Regions from separate parts of the Homo sapiens genome. Here all the other regions are linked to region 1. Evidence: promoter capture Hi-C in 16 types of primary human blood cells and fetal thymus (Javierre and others, 2016). All regions are on one chromosome and are shown on one strand. The core of a region is centred on a gene start or on the middle of the fragment in contact, and the rest is flanking DNA. Distances in the headings are between cores, read along the strand shown.

Region 1 (4,594 bases), core at 619-3,118:
ACTCTAAGCTCCAGCTGATTGTTTCCATGTGGGAGTGTCGGTCCAGTGTGGCCAGATCTTCCAGTGTTCTAAGAGACAACAGAAATCCAGGTTTTTATAGGACTGCACCAGGTTTTAAAAACATATCGGCCAAGCCAGGCTGGTTTTTAAACCAGATATGGTCCACAGGCCATCATTCTAGCCCCTTGGCAGATTGAAGGGAGCTAGTGAAGATTTTTAAGTGAAAAAAGGTATATGATAATATCTGTGCTTCAGAAAAATCAGATTATTGTGTAGAAGATGACTTACAGGAAATAGATGAGAGGAAGGGAAACCAGTTAGGAAACTGTTTCAACAGTTCAGGTGGGAAGTGACTGCGGTCTGTGCTAGGGCGAGGCAGGGGAGAATGTGGGTGGACAGATTTGGAGTCCAGCATCCAGTGGGAAGAATTTAGCTTCAGTGTGCATCTAGAAGACAGACACATTCTTTCAATGCACCCCCTCTTTTCCGCCCCATTTTTTTTTTTTGAGACAGAGTTTCTTTCTGTCACCCAGGCTGGAGTTCATTGGCACGATCTCGGCTCACTGCAACCTCCACCTCCCGGGTTCAAGTGATTCTCCTGCCTCAGCCTCCTGAGTAACTGGGATTACAGACACATGCCACAACACCTGACTGATTTTTGTATATTTTTAGTAGAGATGGGGTTTCACCATGTTGGCAAGGCTGGTCTTGTACTCCTGACCTCAAGTCATCCACCTGCCTCGGCCTCCCAAAGTGCTGGGATTATAGATGTGAGCCACCGCGACTGGCCTCCACCCCATTTTCTTCTTTCTTTCTTTTTTCTTTTTCTTTTTCTTGTTGTTTTGTTTGTTTGTTTGTTTGTTTGTTTTAGACGGAGTCTGGTTCTGTCACCCAGACTGGAGTGCAGTGGCGCAATCTTGGCTCCCTGCAAGCTCTGCCTCCCGGGTTCACGCCATTCTCCTGCCTCAGCCTCCCGAGTAGCTGGGACTACAGGCGCCCGCCACCACGCCTGGCTCATTTTTTTGTATTTTTAGTAGAGACGGGGTTTTACCGTGTTAGCCAGGATGGTCTCCATCTCCTGACCTGGTGATCCGCCCGCCTGGGCCTACCAAAGTGCTTGGATTACAAGCGTGAGCCACCGCGCCCGGCCTCCACCCCATTTTCTAAACTGGAAGCTGAAAGGCACAGGGCAGATTAATAATCCTTAAAGCCAAAGGACAGGAAATTTTAGCAAAGACTCCAATTTTTTGTGCAGTCTAATGTTACTCATGATTGCTTTAGAGATGGACTCCTTAATCAACTCCTCCAATCCTCTTCCGCCCCCAGGGGGCAGTTTTAATTGATGGGCTCAGCACATAATTGAAATTAAAAACGTACATCTCATGGTGTTTGGCTCATTCAACAGCCAATGGAAACTCAGGGCCAAATCTTTGTAAAAGTTCTAGGCTCTGCTTCCCAGCAGAGGGGGAAACCGGCTCCCAAAGAGGCCGTTTTGTGGAGACAGACATATGAGAAGTGGGCTTCAGATCTATTTCATGGTCTTGGTGGTTGTGCAACTGGCCACTTTGGTTCACGGAAGGATGTAAAGGGCAGGGAGGTGGGAATAGAGCGGGGGAAAGGTGACTCCCGTCAAAGAATTTTTCTAACATCCATCAAGTATCGTGATTAGAACTTTTCTCTCCGCAGACTCCTCCAATTTTTGAGCGCGGTATTTTTCGGCACAGGAAATGGCCCGGAGGAGCTGCAGAGCAAAGCCTCCCCTCTCTGGCACCGCATGGGAGTGCCCCGTGGGATGAGGGAGAGGACAAGGCAGTCAGGCAAAGGTTACGGGAGGAAAGCAAAGGCAGGAGCCCAGAACCACTCCAGGAAATGTTTGGATTTCTCCACCAGGAGGGAGGACAAACAAGCTTTCTTCTTGCCTTCTGGGCAGCTTTGTGTGCTCTCCAGCACGGAGTCCGAGGAGGAACAGCGAAGCTGAAAATGAAAATTACTCTGGCGCTGGACCCAATCGCTCCTCTACGGCATCAATCTCATCGGACCCCCCCACCCTACCGCCTCTCAGAAATGACCACTTTTGCAAAATTGCATGCATTTCCAAGCTTCATCCGGCTCCAGGCTTGGCCTCTCCCAGAGGCAGGCGGCTTGTGAGACGGGCTCCAGAGAAAGGACCTCCCTGGGTCTCTCATTTCCTGGCTGAAGTTTCTCTTCTCGCTGCTGTGGCAGCATCCAACCCACACACACAGGACCCGCATCCTGGGTGATGAAGTCAGACACGCAGCAGCTGGGTGAGTGCTAACGCTCAGATAAGCATCTGTGCCATTGTGGGGACTCCCTGGGCTGCTCTGCACCCGGACACTTGCTCTGTCCCCGCCATGTACAACGGGTCGTGCTGCCGCATCGAGGGGGACACCATCTCCCAGGTGATGCCGCCGCTGCTCATTGTGGCCTTTGTGCTGGGCGCACTAGGCAATGGGGTCGCCCTGTGTGGTTTCTGCTTCCACATGAAGACCTGGAAGCCCAGCACTGTTTACCTTTTCAATTTGGCCGTGGCTGATTTCCTCCTTATGATCTGCCTGCCTTTTCGGACAGACTATTACCTCAGACGTAGACACTGGGCTTTTGGGGACATTCCCTGCCGAGTGGGGCTCTTCACGTTGGCCATGAACAGGGCCGGGAGCATCGTGTTCCTTACGGTGGTGGCTGCGGACAGGTATTTCAAAGTGGTCCACCCCCACCACGCGGTGAACACTATCTCCACCCGGGTGGCGGCTGGCATCGTCTGCACCCTGTGGGCCCTGGTCATCCTGGGAACAGTGTATCTTTTGCTGGAGAACCATCTCTGCGTGCAAGAGACGGCCGTCTCCTGTGAGAGCTTCATCATGGAGTCGGCCAATGGCTGGCATGACATCATGTTCCAGCTGGAGTTCTTTATGCCCCTCGGCATCATCTTATTTTGCTCCTTCAAGATTGTTTGGAGCCTGAGGCGGAGGCAGCAGCTGGCCAGACAGGCTCGGATGAAGAAGGCGACCCGGTTCATCATGGTGGTGGCAATTGTGTTCATCACATGCTACCTGCCCAGCGTGTCTGCTAGACTCTATTTCCTCTGGACGGTGCCCTCGAGTGCCTGCGATCCCTCTGTCCATGGGGCCCTGCACATAACCCTCAGCTTCACCTACATGAACAGCATGCTGGATCCCCTGGTGTATTATTTTTCAAGCCCCTCCTTTCCCAAATTCTACAACAAGCTCAAAATCTGCAGTCTGAAACCCAAGCAGCCAGGACACTCAAAAACACAAAGGCCGGAAGAGATGCCAATTTCGAACCTCGGTCGCAGGAGTTGCATCAGTGTGGCAAATAGTTTCCAAAGCCAGTCTGATGGGCAATGGGATCCCCACATTGTTGAGTGGCACTGAACAAGCAGACCAACAACACTGAGGAAGATAGAGTGGTGACTTAGAATTAACTCGTGCTAAGGGGTCGGGGGCTTTGAAAATGCCACCCCCCTTTCTTATTGCAAGACGGCTTCTCGCACATGAACTGCATCCTTCTCATTCTGTCGGAAATGAAATTCACACAACTATACCTTTTGGGGAGGTTCCAGTTGATTGAAGTGAGTTGGCTGCATTTTCTTATCTGATCACAATGGCAGGGGACAGAATGTGCATGGAGTGGAGCATGTGTGTGTTGGGAGGGGGGCTAGGAACTGCACAGCCCTTGTGTAATTTTCGTTGTTTGTTTTTGTTTTGAGACAGAGTCTCACTCTGTGTCCCAGGCTGGAGTGCAGTGGCACAGTCTCGGCTCACTGCAACCTCTGCCTCCCGGGTTCAAGCAATTCTCCTGCCTCAGCCTCCCGAGTAGCTGGGATTAGAGGCGCCAGCCAACACACCCGGCTAATTTTTGTATTTTTAGTAGAGACAGGGTTTTGCCATGTTGGCCAGGCTGGTCTCGAGCTCCTGACCTCAGGTGATCCGCCTGCCTTGGCCTCCCAAAGTGGTGGGATCACAGGCGTGAGCCACCGTGCCTGGCCTCCCCTGTGTCATTTTAAATGGCTAAGTAAATGGGTATATGTGTTTGAATGGGGCATGTTCACTCTCTTAGGGGCTATGGGGCAGTTAGCAGCATTTCCTATCCTCTGACCTTAAATCATTCCTTATCTCAGAAAACAGAAACCGGGCTCAGTCAATCAATGCTTTATTTCAGGCCGAATGAGGCTCTTTAGATTGGGATCTATTGATCTATCAATTTTCATCTTTACATTTCTTTGTACATCTGTACATTTTGTCCAAATGTACATCTGTACGTCTGTCATCATTGTGACTTCCTGGTAGCCCAAGAAGAACAACAACAAAACAATCTGCTCTGACCTTCTTCAAATCTTTGTATTTCAAAGAAGGTGCTGAGGGATCTGTTTCCTTGCCCTGGCTTCTCCAGTGGGATGTGCTGAGTCCAATACAATTGCTTTTATAATTGCTTTTGACAACTTGTCATGTGACTGTGAATTGAAATTATTCACTTATTTTCCAAGTATTTACTGAATTCGTATTTGGTGGCAGGCAGTATACTGTGTAATTTTTAGTGGAGGGTCATTAGTCAA
Region 2 (4,594 bases), core at 1,343-3,842, 190 kb after region 1:
TGGAATCAAACAGCAGAAAGCTGCCTGCTCCTGAGTTAGCTGACCAAGCTGAATTCCCAACCATACAAGAACCTAACCATTTGTCTCCTGGAGTTACTTCTCCCAAAGTTGTTAAAGTGGGACTCTAGCATTCCTAATAAAAACCTGACCATCTTCCAAGGTTACTAAATCAGGATTCTAGCAGTCCTGCTAAGCACCTGACCAGATCCAGCCAGCTGAAGACAAGGTGGACTTCAACCCTGGCCTTTCACCAAGTATTTCCTAATTTTAACCTAATTATGATACTAAAAATCACACCCAGGGATGGAGATTTAACATGCTAGTGAGATATACAACACATGAAAAAGGATGCGACCAAAATTCACAGGCGCTAAAAGTTCCCTGCCTCTACATGCCTACAAATCACTCCCTTTTTCACCTCAGCTTCCTCAAAATGACAAGAGCTAAGCCCTTCGGGGAGCTAGCACTTGGGATCCCTTTCCCATACGCTGTTTCCTTGAGATTCCTTGAGCCACAAGCCTACTAAACATTCCCTGGGAAAATTTCTGTTTGACCTGGTGTTAATTTCTATTTACACGAGAGCCAAGAACTCAGGATCCAAGCTGTGGTAACACCTTCAAAGCTTAATTGTTCAAAAAAACATTGCTTTAATTTAAAACACATGTTAAGTAATAGTTTGCTAGAGTTTTAGTTGTCTAAGAGATTATTTAGAATTTAAATAATGAAAATTAAAATACAACAAGATCTTACATTAGTGAGTAGTGTTTGTTTTGATGTTACATGAATAAGATGTAGGTTGCCACTTCTCTCGCCAACCAAAAGAAACTTTCCTTCTTGACAAAGGCCAACTACATCCACTTCAGTATCTGAAAATTTCAAATCAAAGTTACAAGCTTCCTTCGAAAATCTTTATTTTCAATACAAAAAAAATACAAATTTTTCTCATTAAAAAGCCAACGATTACTTAAGTTACTTCTAAATACTGCAAAACAGATGTGATGAAAGTAAAAAAGAATGTTGTTGACTTTTATTCAGTCAACAAATATTTTTTGTTTTGTTTTGTTTTTGAGACAGCGTCTCGCTCTGCTACCCAGGCTGGAGTGCAGTGGTACCACCCCAGTTCACTGCACCCTAGACTTCCTGGGCTCAGTCAGGCAATTCTCCCACCTCAGCCTCCCAGGTAGCTGGGACCACAGGTACACACCACTATGGCCAGCTAGTTTTTGGTATTTTTTGTACAGACGAGGTTTTGCCATGTTACCCAGACTGGTCTCGAACTCCTGAGCTCAAGCGATTGTCCATCTCTGCCTCCCAAAGTGCTGAGGTTACAGATGTGAGCCACTGCATGCAGCTGGTCAAGAAATATTTACTGAGCACTTACTATATGGTAAACTTTGTTCTAGGCCTTTTACATATATCTGAGAACAGTAACAAAAGATTACCACCGTCACAGAGCTCATATTCTAAGACAGAAATAGCTGATAAATGACCAGGCGTGGTGGCTCACACCTGTAACCCCAGCACTTTGGGAGGCCGAAGCAGGCAGATCACTTGAGGTCAGGAGTTCGAGACCAGCCTGGCCAACATGGTGAAACTCCGTCTCTACTAAAAATATAAAATTAGCCGGACATGGTGGCATGTGCCTGTAATCCAGTCTACTCAGGAGGCTGAGACAGGAGAATCGCTTGAACCCAGGAGGTGGAGGCTGCAGTGAGCTGAAATCACGCCACTGCACTCCAGCCTAGGCAACAGAGCCAGACTCCGTCTCAAAAAAAAAAAAAAATAGCTGATAAACAATTAGCATAATAAACAAACTGTGAGACATGTAAGAAGGTGATAGATGTTCTGGGGAAAAAAATGTAGAGCCAGGTAAGAGAGCTCAGAAGAATGGTGCATTTTGCAGTGTTAATTAGAAAGCTCACAGGAGACATGAAAGAGGTGAGGAAGTTAGCCAAATGACTAAGATGAAGAGCATTCCGAGCATTCAGATGGTGGACACAGCTCAAGGAAAGATCATGGAGTGGGAAGTGCCTGTTGTATTCATGCAAAAGCAAGAAGGCCAAGGTAACAGAAAACAAAGCAAAGAGGGAAGGGACAAGACAGAAAAACAATAGTATGTAACTGGCTTACGAACTCAAGTTATTCCGCCACAATGTCTTTTCACAAATGGATCATCGTTACTCATCCCACCACTTAATAGAAGAAACTGTGAATCTTGTGGACCAATCAGGGTCAATACGTCAAGGTTCCATAAAACACAAGTTTCTTGCCTCCATGTTGCAATCAAGATATGTTCCAAAATGCATGTGTTCTGTTTCCTTTTCAGTTGTCTAAGTTCTTATGTAAAAGTTTCAACAACTATCTTTCTCTTAAAATTTCTATTTAATGGCCGGGTGCAGTGGCTCACGCCTGTAATCCCAGCACTTTGGGAGGCCAAGGTGGGTGGATCATTTGAGGTCAGGAATTTGAGAGCAGCCTGGCCAACATGGTGAAACCTGACCCTACTAAAAATACAAAAATTACCAGGCATGGTGGCAGGCGCCTGTACTCCCAGCTACTTGGGAGGCTGAGGCAGAAGAATCTCTTGAACCTGGGAGGTGGAGGTTGCAGTGAGCTGAGAGAGCACCACTGCACTCCAGCCTGGGCCACAGAGCGAGACTGTCTCAGGGAAAAAAAAAAAAAAGGCCTGGCACGGTGGCTCACGTCTGTAATCCCAACACTTCAGGAGGCCGAGGCGGGCAGATCATGAGGTTGAGACCAGCCTGGCCAACATAGTGAAACCCTGTTTCTTCTAAAAATACAAAAAAAGATTAGCAGGGCGTGGTGATGGGTGCCTGTAGTCCCAGATACTTGGGAGGCTGAGGCAGGAGAATTGCTTGGACCCTGGAGGCGGAGGTTGCAGTGAGCTGACATCATGCCACCACACTCCGGCCTAGGCGACAGTGCGAGACTACATCTCAAAAAAAAAAAAAATTTCTACTCAAGAAAGAAAAAACTTTCGGGGTCGGGTGTCGTGGCTCATGCCTATAATCCCAGCACTTTGGGAGGCCGAGGCAGGCAGATCACAAGGTCAGGAGATCGAGACCATCCTGGCTAACATGGTGAAATGCTGTCTCTACTAAAAAAAAAAAAAAATACAAAAAATTGCCCAGGCATGGTGGTGGGCGCCTGTAGTCCCAGCTATTCAGGAGGCTGAGGCAGGAGAATGGTGTGAACCCGGGAGGCAGAGCTTGCAGTGAGCCGAGATTGTGCCACTGCACTACAGCCTGGGTGACAGAGCGAGAGAGACTCCATCTCAAAAAAAAAAAAAAAAAACTTTCATAATATTCTTGCCTAAGCTCAGTACAATCACTGACTTACCCCTTAATTCACTCTTTTTTTTGTTTTTGAGACACGACTGTCACTCTGTCACTCAGGCTAGAGTATAGTGGCATAATCTTGGCTCACTGCAACCTCTGCCTCCTGGGATCAAGCGATTCTCCTGCCTCAGACTCCTGAGTAGCTGGGATTACAGGTGTATGCCACCATGCCCAGCTAATTTTTGTTGTTGTTGTTGTTTTTGGAGACAGAGTTTTGCTCTGTCACCCAGGCTGGAGTGTAGTGGAGTGATCTTGGCTCACTGCAACCTCCACCTCCCAGGTTCAAGCAATTCTCCTACCTCAGCCTCCCGAGTAGCTGGAACTATAGGCGCACACCAGCACGGCCAGCTAATTTTTGTATATTAGTAGAGAAAACGGGATTTCACCATGTTGCCCAGGCTGGTCTCAAACCCCTGAGCTCAGGCAATCCACCCACCTGGGCCTTCCAAAGTACAAGGATTACAGGTGTGATTTTTGTATTTTTAGTAGAAATGGGGTTTCACCATGTTGGCCAGGCTGGTCTTGAACTCCTGACCGCAAGTGATCTGGTGGCCTCAGCCTCCCAAAGTGCTGGGATTGCAGGCATGAGCCACCACGCCCAGCTTTAATTCACTCTCAAATCCACATTTGCATGTACTTGAAGCCTTGTAGCTCGATGAAGAATTAATTCATAAGTATGTTAAAGGATTTTTAGAGAGCTATTAATTCTAAAAATATGCAAATACCCATTAATGATACCGAAATTCTGTACAAGATTCAGGAATTTGAACACAAATGAGCTCATGTTTTCCATAGTATTCTAATACAAGCAAGTAAACTAAGTTGTTGCTTTACATGTGTATTTCCCCTCAGATGTATTGAGAGAAGGGATCATCTCAGTGTCCTTTGACTCTAGTGCCCAACGCAAATAAGGCACTAAGCACTCAAGCTTAATTACTTGAAATTGGTCTAATTTGAAATCTTAGAAATAATGGAGTAAAGAGGAGGCAATCCAGCAGAAATTGGCAGCAGATGTATTTGACTTCCAATTTATCTTACTTCATTCACTACATTATACTTACCAAAGACAAGATGCAATTGAAGTGATCTACAAATACTGTCAAGCAATATCACTGATTGGTCGGCTACAATAATAAACCCATCACTTAAGCTGCATGCCTGTATCTTTGGATTTAATGAGGCCTGTGGGAGAGAAAAGCATGATGAAAATTCAAACATTTTTATATGTGTTTAAT
Region 3 (4,594 bases), core at 1,005-3,504, 160 kb after region 1:
TTGCTGTACCCATCAACCTGTCATGCACATTTTAAGCCCTGCATGCATCAGCTATCCATCCTGATGCTGAAAATCCATTTTTGATGACAGCAAACAATAAAATAAATTTAAAATACGATCCTAGATACTGAAGAGTTAATTCCTAGGCATTGCTATGATTATAGAATCATATAAAAATAATGACATTTAAAAACACAACAGGCCAAGCATGGTAGCTCACACCAGTAATCTCAGCACTTTGGGAGGCTAAGGCAGGTGGATTACTTCAGGTTGAGAGTTTGAGACCAGCGTGACCAACATGGTGAAACACAGCCACTGCACTCCAGCCTGGGCAATGGAGCGAGACCCTGTCTCAAAAAACAACAACAACAACACAGAAACAAAGAAGCCATATGAAATGACAACATAAAACTTACAAACCTGTTCTCTATCAATCAGGTCAATAATTCTTAGACTGTAGATCTCATCATCAGATAACATAAACGCTTGGGCTACCTTTAAAGCATCTTCTAAAGAAGATGGGACATCTTGTTTGAGAATGTATCTAACCACTCTCTGCAAAAGACAATATGAACATTTCTTTGTTATAGAACTCACAGAAAACCAAGAAATCACTTGCTTATAAGAGCAAAGTGGCAAAAAAATTTAAATAATGCAGCAAAAAACTAAATTGTATGAAAGATTAAAACATGATTTATATTCTGATCATTCCACAGTCCTGTCTTCTTTCTTCTACAGCTTCTTAATTTACTATTTGGTGTCTTTTTTTTGAGACAGAGTCTCCCTCTGTCGCCAGGCTACAGTGCAGTGGCGCAATCTCGGCTCACTGCAACCTCTGCCTCCCAGGTTCAAGTGATTCTCCTCCCTCAGCCTCCCAAGTAGCTGGGACTACAGGCACATGCCACCACACCCTGCTAATTTTTTTGCATTTTTAGCAGAGACGGAGTTTTACCATGTTGGCCAGAATGGTCTTGATCTCTTGACCTCATGATCCACCCACCTTGGCCTCCCAAAGTGCTGGGATTACGGGTGTGAGCCACCGCACCTGGCCTATTTGGTGTCTTTAATACTCTCATAAAAAGCCCAGGAGCGGTAGCTCACGCCTGTAATCCCAACACTATGGGAGGCCGAGGCAGGCAGATCACCTGAGGTCGGGAGCTCAAGACCAACCAGCCTGACCAACATGGAGAAACCCCATCTCTACTAAAAATACAAAAAAAAAATTAGCCAAGCGTGGTAGTGCATGCCTGTAATCCCAGCTACTCAGGAGGCTGAGGCAGGAAAATCACTTGAACCCAGAAGGCGGAGGTTGTGGTGAGCCGAGATCGCGCCATTGCACTCCAGCCTGGGCGGCAAGAGCGAAACTCCATGTCAAAAAGAATAAATACTCTCATAAATAACTGAACACCTTATTAACATCATATCTAACAAAAGAAATGTAGTGGAAAAACCTAGCTCTATTAGCCTCCTAGAATATAAATTCCTCATTAAGCTTTCCATATTGCCCCAGAAATGAAAGAGAAAAAAGACTCTTCGAAGAGTGTACTTACCATTATTTCCTTGTTTAAGAGATTTACCTCTCTTATTCCATAGCCTCGTAAAAGTTTTTTCATCTCCATTAGTTTGTAACTTTCCTGTAATAACTTGACTCTGAAAGCAAATTTACCCATATTAACATGGATTGTCTTTTTTATGAAGTACTATGGGACACAGCAAACAATATAGAAACATAAATGAACGTCAACTCAAAACACAATGTTTCTCCAGAGCATAACAACATTGTTTCGTAGACAGTCATCTTACTTGGGATGGTCCATTTCCAGGTGCTGTTTCACCAGTTGCTCCACAGCTGCACTCCAAGGAACCACTGCCGCATACATGATCTTGAGCACGGCATCAAATATGAGCTACAAAAGATGCACGCATGGACAAGGAACAGCCCTCAGGTTTACGATGCATGCAAGTGAACAGCACAGTCTAATCAGCAGGTCTTACATCAACCACATGGTAGTTTGAGAATATTTCATCCACTCACTGGAAAACCATTTATTTCTTCAGTTTTCACATATAGAGAACAATTTGACTATTCAGAAAAATTCAGAAGAGTATTTTTTCTGCTGTAAGCTAAGACATACAGCGTTATTGCTTTCTACGGTCTCTACAATCCCTGGGTTTTTTTTGTTTTTTTGAGGCAGGGTCATGTTCCCATTGCCCAGGCTGGAGTGCAGTGGCGCGATCTCAGCTCACTGCAACCTCCACCTCCTGGGTTCAAGCGATTCTCCCACCTCAGGCTCCCAAGTAGCTTGGACTACAGGCAAGCACCACCACACCTGGCTAATTTTTGTATTTTCTGTAGAGATGCGGTTCCACCATGTTGCCCAGGCAGGTCTCAAATTCCTGAGCTCAGGTGATCTGTCTGCCTTGGCTTCCAAAAGTGCTGGGATTACAGGCATGAGCCACTGTGTCCAGCCTCAGTCTCTGGTTTAAAAACAGTTTTCATTATTTTATTTCTATTTTATAGTGGCAATAACAGTGTGAAGTTAAAATAAAGGCATATTACAATATATTAACAAATGTCTCACATTGCAGCGAATAACTGAAAAAGAAAAGTCTCCATGTTTGCATAACCACAGAAAAGCCTGCAAAGATATGCATACAACTGTCCATGGAGGTTCCCCTGGGGGTGGAAATGAGTAAACATTCACTTTTTATTTTCTGTAATTAAAGAAAACAGACACTTTAGGAGAATGAAGCAGGCAGATCACTTGAGCCCAGGTGTTCAAGACCAGCCTGGGAAACCCTGTCTCTACAAAAAATACAAAAATTAGCTGGGCGTAGTGGCACACGCCTATGGTCCTAACTACTCAGGAGGCTGAGGTGGGGATTGCTTGAGCCAGGGAGATTGAGGCTGCAGTGAACCATGATCATGTCACTGCATTCCAGCCTGGGCGACACAGCCAGACCCATCTCAAACAAAAACAAATATATGTCGCTTTTATGAACAGAAAAAAGCTTTCAGAAAAGATTTAATGCTCAAAAGGGAAACGCAAATGGTCACTATTTACTTACGTCCGTGTCAGATAAACACGCTATTACTGCCATGGCCTTTGCTTCCCATGCTGTTTCAAAGAGTGATGTGGACTTTGAGCTGCATCTATTCAGTAAATCCTAAAAAGGGATAAACATGTATGTTTTTTAAAAATTAAAAATTCTCATTAAAAAAATGCCACATACAGCTAGATACAGATATTATATGGCCTTGATAGATGTGTTAAAAGAAAAAAAACCTAAAAATTCTAATTAGTCATAAATGTTGAACAATGGTCTAAAAATACAAAACTGCCAAAACATTAGCCTTTAGTTTTATATGGTATAGAAAATTTAAGAATGAAACATTCTTGAAGAATCTACAAATAAGATTACTGTAGCACATTAATAACATCCACAAGAAATAACTGCTAATATTTATTGAGTTCATGCTCCTGTGGTCTCACAATAGCCCTTTGAAGAAAGTACTGTGAAAGGGAAATATCTTGGGCCCCCAAGATCACTAAGGAAAACTCAGGCTGGAAATTGCTTAGGGCAAACTTGCCTCCCATTCTATCAAAGTTACCCCTCTGCTCACTGAGACAGCTGCATTATCTGATTGCCTCCTTTGGAAAGGCTAATCAGAAACTCAAAAGAATTTTAATGTTTTGTATCACCTATCTGTGACCTGGAAGCTCCCTCTCGCTTGGAGTCTTCCTGCCTTTGCTTCAAGTTGTCCCACCTTTCCAGATCGAACCAATGTACTTCTTACATATGCTGACTGATGCCTCGTGTCTCTCCCTAAAATATATAAAACCAAGCTGTGCCCGGACCACCTTGGGTACATGTCGTCAGGACTTCCTGAGGCTGTGTCATGGGTGTATCCTCAACTTTGGCAAAATAAACTCCCTAAATTAACTGAGAACTGTCTCAGATTTTCCGGGTTCACAGTCCTCATGTATCCCCCCTTTGCTCAAGATGGTTAGTAGCAGAATTAACCCACATTTTTAACCAATTCAATATGCTGCATGAGTCCTACTGAGAAAGCATATGACATTCCTTAAAGAGTTAAATATTTACTACAGTGCTACACTGCATAGATCCAAGAAATAAGACTAGATGTAAAGGAAAAGTTACCTCTATGTACAGCAAGAGAAGTTCCTCCTCTTGCAAGTCATGTTCTCTCATGTAAACTCTTATAAACTTCTCTAAGATGGAGGGAATAAGCTCTGGGGCCAGCACTTTATCAAACATTCGGAACACTATGGTGGTTGTATTTTCCTGGATGCCAAAAGAAAGATGGAATAAATACAGACTCTACCCATAACTTGATATACAAAATAATTCTTATGACCCTGGACTTTACCTTCTCAAAATCAGAGAGGGCTAATTTGCAGTTGTACTTCCTATGCAACGTGATCAACTCTCGCAAGTTATTTACCAAAGTCCTTAGCTGACATACTTCCTCTGTGTTCTGATAATCTTTCTAAAACAAAAGTGTTAAAGTTGTTAACGATATAAAATAAAAGTATGAGAGAAAAATAGAATCAGAATTATTTCAGATAAA

The links. Contacts are between HindIII fragments. The CHiCAGO score rates a contact against its expected background, and 5 or more counts as called.
Region 2: a contact is called between a fragment that was not itself captured here and the fragment with the promoter of HCAR1 in region 1, in 1 of 17 cell types (endothelial precursors). The highest score is 5.9, in endothelial precursors.
Region 3: a contact is called between a fragment that was not itself captured here and the fragment with the promoter of HCAR1 in region 1, in 1 of 17 cell types (endothelial precursors). The highest score is 5.2, in endothelial precursors.

The regions. Positions count from the first base shown.
Region 1 is chr12:122,728,118-122,732,711 of GRCh38, reverse strand. HCAR1 (hydroxycarboxylic acid receptor 1) reads left to right here and starts at 1,868. Exons shown (of 1, transcript NM_032554.4): 1 at 1,868-4,594. The coding sequence starts at 2,373. The coding sequence ends at 3,413. RefSeq lists an enhancer at 2,439-3,106. The HindIII fragment of the contact is 4,369 bases long and covers 1-1,909 here.
Region 2 is chr12:122,534,611-122,539,204 of GRCh38, reverse strand. KNTC1 (kinetochore associated 1) reads right to left here. Exons shown (of 64, transcript NM_014708.6): 3 at 4,421-4,541; 4 at 751-866. Among named protein-coding and RNA genes, the nearest start is that of KNTC1, 9.7 kb to the right of the region's middle. The HindIII fragment of the contact is 3,394 bases long and covers 896-4,289 here.
Region 3 is chr12:122,572,856-122,577,449 of GRCh38, reverse strand. KNTC1 (kinetochore associated 1) reads right to left here. Exons shown (of 64, transcript NM_014708.6): 25 at 4,394-4,513; 26 at 4,165-4,308; 27 at 3,070-3,168; 28 at 1,804-1,907; 29 at 1,551-1,650; 30 at 421-555. Among named protein-coding and RNA genes, the nearest start is that of KNTC1, 48 kb to the right of the region's middle. The HindIII fragment of the contact is 1,520 bases long and covers 1,495-3,014 here.